2 separate regions of the Homo sapiens genome follow, and region 1 is linked to region 2. The links are contacts of gene promoters, found by promoter capture Hi-C in blood cells and fetal thymus (Javierre and others, 2016). All regions are on one chromosome and are shown on one strand. Each heading gives the region's core, a stretch centred on a gene start or on the middle of the fragment in contact. The rest is flanking DNA. Distances are from core to core; before and after follow the strand shown.

Evidence for each region. Contacts are between HindIII fragments. The CHiCAGO score rates a contact against its expected background, and 5 or more counts as called.
Region 1: a contact is called between a fragment that was not itself captured here and the fragment with the promoter of CLEC14A in region 2, in 1 of 17 cell types (endothelial precursors). The highest score is 5.7, in endothelial precursors.

Annotation. Positions count from the first base shown.
Region 1 is chr14:38,366,091-38,369,225 of GRCh38, reverse strand. No RefSeq gene overlaps it. Among named protein-coding and RNA genes, the nearest start is that of CLEC14A, 110 kb to the right of the region's middle. The HindIII fragment of the contact is 3,051 bases long and covers 220-3,135 here.
Region 2 is chr14:38,254,209-38,257,450 of GRCh38, reverse strand. It overlaps CLEC14A (C-type lectin domain containing 14A), which reads left to right and starts at 1,358. Exons shown (of 1, transcript NM_175060.3): 1 at 1,358-3,242. The coding sequence starts at 1,429. The coding sequence ends at 2,901. LOC112268136 (a long non-coding RNA gene) reads right to left here and starts at 1,406. Exons shown (of 5, transcript NR_169588.1): 1 at 1,006-1,406. RefSeq lists an enhancer at 1,549-2,176. The HindIII fragment of the contact is 4,914 bases long and covers 1-3,242 here.

The sequences.
Region 1 (3,135 bases), core at 496-2,995, 110 kb before region 2:
ATCATCTTATAAGACATAGAAGAATAGGTAAGCTTCCTGTTGATAGTATCTAATAATGTTGCACATTCTTACATTTTTAAAATTACTTTCATAACCATATTTCATTTAGTAAACTTAAAAATTACATGGAGTAGATTCAGATATTATTTTGACCACCTTACATAATGAAAATTGAAGTTCAGAGGATTAAGTGACCTGTCTAAGCCACCATAAGAAGCTTAAATCTGGATTTTATTTTTTAGTGTGACCTCTATGTATTATATTTCATCTTTTTATGCTTAAGAGACTAAAGACTAAGAGAAATTGAATTTTGAGAAAACAAAATTTTGACAACAAACTAAATCTCTTATGCTCTTGAGGGTAAAATAATTATTAATGTGGGATAGAAGATGTCATGGAAACTATTATTTTGAGCCAAATTCTAAAATAAATAAAAATACTAAAAGTTTCCATATATTATTATAGTTTTAAAAAAGCAAAACATCTATTAGTGAGGTGGCTTTCATACCATAACAATTGTAAATATAGTATAAAGTGATGAATTCTATCCAATTAAAATATAGAAACATCCAGTTAATTATCAAGATGATCCACAAATAACAGAGTTCAGAACTGGTCAAGGTGGTAATTAACAAGTTCTGAATTACACAGACAAGTTCTGCATAAAGTAGAGAAGGTTATAACAAGAGCTAGTGAAACAGATAAAAGGAAGGCTAAATTAGCAGTTTTTCTATCCTGTTTCCAACACTTTAATTATCTGAAGGAATGCTATGTTATTAGAGTCTCAACAAAAATTTCATAATAATTTTATTTCAATTTGTAATCATTCCAAGTGCCTGTAATCATTCCAAATGCCCGTACACAGGTGTCATAGAACTCTTCTGTAGTAAATGTTATAAACTCAAAACAGTGATACATTTGTATCACTCCAGGCAGGTTAGGAGGCACGACTTGATATATCTTGGTATAATCCATCTACGCTCATCCTGCCCCACCTCAGCAGAGTCCTGTGGATGGAGCTCTTAGATTGGAAAGACATGCATCCTGTCCTAAAGAGGAACGCTGAAAAAACTTCCTTACTGTTACTCTGAAGATACAAATTCTCCCTTCCCAGTCATACTCCTCCCTAGAGAGCCAGCCCCAAAGCCCTGCCTATCCTGCCTGTACCCTGTGGCTTTACACTGTCCCAGGGTCATTGCTAATTAAAGCTGAACCAATCAGATTCCATGAGAAATTTGAGTGACGTGGAGTGTAAACCAGTGAAACACATGTACTAGCTTGAAAGAGAGATTATGTAGAGCTGGGAAAGCCATTTTCATATTTCTACCATATAAGACCTGCAGCAAAGGAGCTTAACAGTAGTGAGAAATAGGAGGAGGAGGCCAAGGTGATTGTACCACTTTGACCACAGACAGGGAGAGAGACTTTTTGGTTTTCCAGTTCTCAGTTTTCCTGTTTGGACTTCCTGCCCTGGTGTTCTCTGCTTCAGTAAGATATCCCTGTGTTACTAGGATAAGGAATGCTTAAGTCTGTTGAAATGAACTTGTTTGTCCAATCAAATAGTCCCTGATTATGGCAATCACAAGCTGATCCGAAAGTAGTAGCAACCCTGTGCCAAGTGGCCAGACAGCCTCGGACTGGGTTTCAGTCAAATCTGATTAAGTTACCTCTCCCTACAGGAGAAAATAGCACCTTTACTCTAATAGCCTTTCAGCAGGTTTTTAGCAACACTGGTGTGTCTTATTCGCTCATAATTGTAAAATTGCAGAATTTTCTACCTGGAGTGGAGACTTAATAATCACATTTAGCTTTCTTATTTTGTCAGTGGGAGGACTGAGAAGCAAGGAGGTTGATTGTCTTGTTCAAGGGCTTGGGAAATTCCTAGCTTGGATCTCTTCATTTGGCCTCTCTCCACAGGACCTTTGCTGTCTGTTGGTAGAGGGGTCTTTTGAGTTTTCTTTCCTTGTAAAGGGAAGGTTCTGCTGCCCATAAAACCTTCAGCTAACTTTGTGGATCCGCTAAGAATCATGTTCAGCTGCATATAACAACATGTCAGATATATCAATGGCTTAAACTTATGAAGATATATTTTATTCCACATAAAATAAGTTTGGAGATGTGCAGTCTGGGGAAGATATGGTGACCCCATGATCATCAGGGACTCATCCTCCATCTCTATTTCTGCTCTTCCATTCTTATTTGACTTCCATCTGCTCTTCCATTCTTATTATTTGGCTTCCATCTGCAGGATCACCACAATAGTCCAAAATGGTGTTTGGAGCCTCATCTATCATATCTGCATTCTAGGAGGTAGGGTGTGGAAAAGGAAGGGGCAAAGTGACACATGCCAGCTGTCTGTCTTCTCATTCTAATAGCTTTTGTTTACTTCTCACTGGTCATAGCTCAGTGAAGTGGCCACTTTAATCTCAAGATAAGCTGGGAAATGCATTATTTTAGCTAGGCACATTGCCACCCTAAATAAAATTGGAGCTCTCTTACTAATAAAGAAAGGGTAAATGAATGTTGAAGCAGCAATGAGAAATCTATGCCATACCTTCCTGGACTTTTTCTCTAGCGGATATCTTAGAATGTTCCCATCATTAGGGGGCATCCTAAACTGTTGGGGAAGTTCTTTCTGAGTCATCTCCTTTTCCTGTTAGATCTCCCCATCCCCCTAAACAATGTCAATCTGAACCTCTGTCTAGTTCTAGTATCCACCCACTATGAGCTGACTCCTTTTATCCTCTCTTGGCAGAGGTTTTGCTGTAGCACATATCGGCACCAGCAATAGTAAAATGCATACCCCAAATATGCTCCATTTACTGTCTTTTTAAAAATGCTTTTCACGTCATTACCGAACCCTAAGTAGGAGGAAGACACTCCTTAGTCAGTGGTAAGGCAATCTCTGCTCCTCTTCAAAAGGTTGTCTGTAGAATGATGATAATAACAGTCTCAACCAGTAAGATGTTTTATGATGATGATATAAGTTAAAATAATGTGGAAAGCACTTAGGACACTGTTTTGGAACAAAATAAGTCCCCTATGAATGTCTGTTATTGTTATTATTCATTAATATTATGATTGTTATTATTATCAACACATGGCTTTTTTTATACTGAGGAATATTTAATGATC
Region 2 (3,242 bases), core at 109-2,608:
GGCTTAGCTGAAACTCTCTATGTATTTCTGATGGCAACGTATTTGGCCATTATGAACCAAGATAGAATGTACGTTTTCTAAACTGATACTGAATTGTCTAAGTTGCTAACAAGAAATCCTTTCATAACAGTACAGTTTTTAACCTTTACTTCTTTATTCATCTTTAATTCCTTGCCACTTCCCACTGAGTTGAAATGTTTATATTAAAACAAAACACCCACTGGAATTCTAAAGAAATTGGCTCACCCATCTTTCAAATTACAAGATATTTTTTGACAGTATACAATATTCATTATAATGGAATAAACATTTTAATTTCTTAAGGAACTCTAATTTTCCTTAAAGGAGATGTTTACAACTTACTATTATAAATGCTGCCACTCAATCATAGGAGAAAATGATACTAAAATAGTTCAAGGCTAAAATCACACATAGGGCAGTTGTTCTCGAATATTTATAAGGCCACGAACTCATTTATGTATAACCTATAAACTTGAAGAATTTTTGAACCAATACAGTGGCAAGGAAAGCTAACAACCTAACTGTTAAGATCTATGGTCATTATTTTTCATTTAGTCCTAGAAATACATTTCCTTTCTGTAATGAATCAATATGGTCTAACTCAAAGAGAAACACGTGGAAGTGAAAAATAAATTTCTAAAGCAAGTGCTGATGGAAGAAGCAGAATTTCCCATTTAAAATACCCAAACAACTCCAAATTCTTTAGTAGTTAGGACTCCTGAAATCTCTTGACATAATAGAGAAGCAAAGACCCATAGAGAGATATGCGGTTAAATAGTGCTGCCTCTGGTGGCAAAAGCAGTTGCTAAGTTGTTTCACAACATATTTTTCCCCCACAGGCACAGGCCCCCCAAACACTGGAGCCGTCTACGAATTATTCTGACGCTAACTCCACAGCTCCGGACAGAAACACAATAGACGGGCGTGGTCTTATAATCATAAGCCAGTTCCTTTCTCAAGTCCTTCCTGCCTATGTTCGCTTACGTGTTATGGGTTCTGCGGTCCTGATGAAACTCCCTGAACGGAGAAAAACCACACACTTCATCCCAGTGGCGAATTTCTCCTCTTGCTCTAAGCAGGGTGTTTGACCTTCTAGTCGACTGCGTCCCCTGTACCCGGCGCCAGCTGTGTTCCTGACCCCAGAATAACTCAGGGCTGCACCGGGCCTGGCAGCGCTCCGCACACATTTCCTGTCGCGGCCTAAGGGAAACTGTTGGCCGCTGGGCCCGCGGGGGGATTCTTGGCAGTTGGGGGGTCCGTCGGGAGCGAGGGCGGAGGGGAAGGGAGGGGGAACCGGGTTGGGGAAGCCAGCTGTAGAGGGCGGTGACCGCGCTCCAGACACAGCTCTGCGTCCTCGAGCGGGACAGATCCAAGTTGGGAGCAGCTCTGCGTGCGGGGCCTCAGAGAATGAGGCCGGCGTTCGCCCTGTGCCTCCTCTGGCAGGCGCTCTGGCCCGGGCCGGGCGGCGGCGAACACCCCACTGCCGACCGTGCTGGCTGCTCGGCCTCGGGGGCCTGCTACAGCCTGCACCACGCTACCATGAAGCGGCAGGCGGCCGAGGAGGCCTGCATCCTGCGAGGTGGGGCGCTCAGCACCGTGCGTGCGGGCGCCGAGCTGCGCGCTGTGCTCGCGCTCCTGCGGGCAGGCCCAGGGCCCGGAGGGGGCTCCAAAGACCTGCTGTTCTGGGTCGCACTGGAGCGCAGGCGTTCCCACTGCACCCTGGAGAACGAGCCTTTGCGGGGTTTCTCCTGGCTGTCCTCCGACCCCGGCGGTCTCGAAAGCGACACGCTGCAGTGGGTGGAGGAGCCCCAACGCTCCTGCACCGCGCGGAGATGCGCGGTACTCCAGGCCACCGGTGGGGTCGAGCCCGCAGGCTGGAAGGAGATGCGATGCCACCTGCGCGCCAACGGCTACCTGTGCAAGTACCAGTTTGAGGTCTTGTGTCCTGCGCCGCGCCCCGGGGCCGCCTCTAACTTGAGCTATCGCGCGCCCTTCCAGCTGCACAGCGCCGCTCTGGACTTCAGTCCACCTGGGACCGAGGTGAGTGCGCTCTGCCGGGGACAGCTCCCGATCTCAGTTACTTGCATCGCGGACGAAATCGGCGCTCGCTGGGACAAACTCTCGGGCGATGTGTTGTGTCCCTGCCCCGGGAGGTACCTCCGTGCTGGCAAATGCGCAGAGCTCCCTAACTGCCTAGACGACTTGGGAGGCTTTGCCTGCGAATGTGCTACGGGCTTCGAGCTGGGGAAGGACGGCCGCTCTTGTGTGACCAGTGGGGAAGGACAGCCGACCCTTGGGGGGACCGGGGTGCCCACCAGGCGCCCGCCGGCCACTGCAACCAGCCCCGTGCCGCAGAGAACATGGCCAATCAGGGTCGACGAGAAGCTGGGAGAGACACCACTTGTCCCTGAACAAGACAATTCAGTAACATCTATTCCTGAGATTCCTCGATGGGGATCACAGAGCACGATGTCTACCCTTCAAATGTCCCTTCAAGCCGAGTCAAAGGCCACTATCACCCCATCAGGGAGCGTGATTTCCAAGTTTAATTCTACGACTTCCTCTGCCACTCCTCAGGCTTTCGACTCCTCCTCTGCCGTGGTCTTCATATTTGTGAGCACAGCAGTAGTAGTGTTGGTGATCTTGACCATGACAGTACTGGGGCTTGTCAAGCTCTGCTTTCACGAAAGCCCCTCTTCCCAGCCAAGGAAGGAGTCTATGGGCCCGCCGGGCCTGGAGAGTGATCCTGAGCCCGCTGCTTTGGGCTCCAGTTCTGCACATTGCACAAACAATGGGGTGAAAGTCGGGGACTGTGATCTGCGGGACAGAGCAGAGGGTGCCTTGCTGGCGGAGTCCCCTCTTGGCTCTAGTGATGCATAGGGAAACAGGGGACATGGGCACTCCTGTGAACAGTTTTTCACTTTTGATGAAACGGGGAACCAAGAGGAACTTACTTGTGTAACTGACAATTTCTGCAGAAATCCCCCTTCCTCTAAATTCCCTTTACTCCACTGAGGAGCTAAATCAGAACTGCACACTCCTTCCCTGATGATAGAGGAAGTGGAAGTGCCTTTAGGATGGTGATACTGGGGGACCGGGTAGTGCTGGGGAGAGATATTTTCTTATGTTTATTCGGAGAATTTGGAGAAGTGATTGAACTTTTCAAGACATTGGAAACAAATAGAACACAATATAATTTACATTAAAAAATAATTTCTACC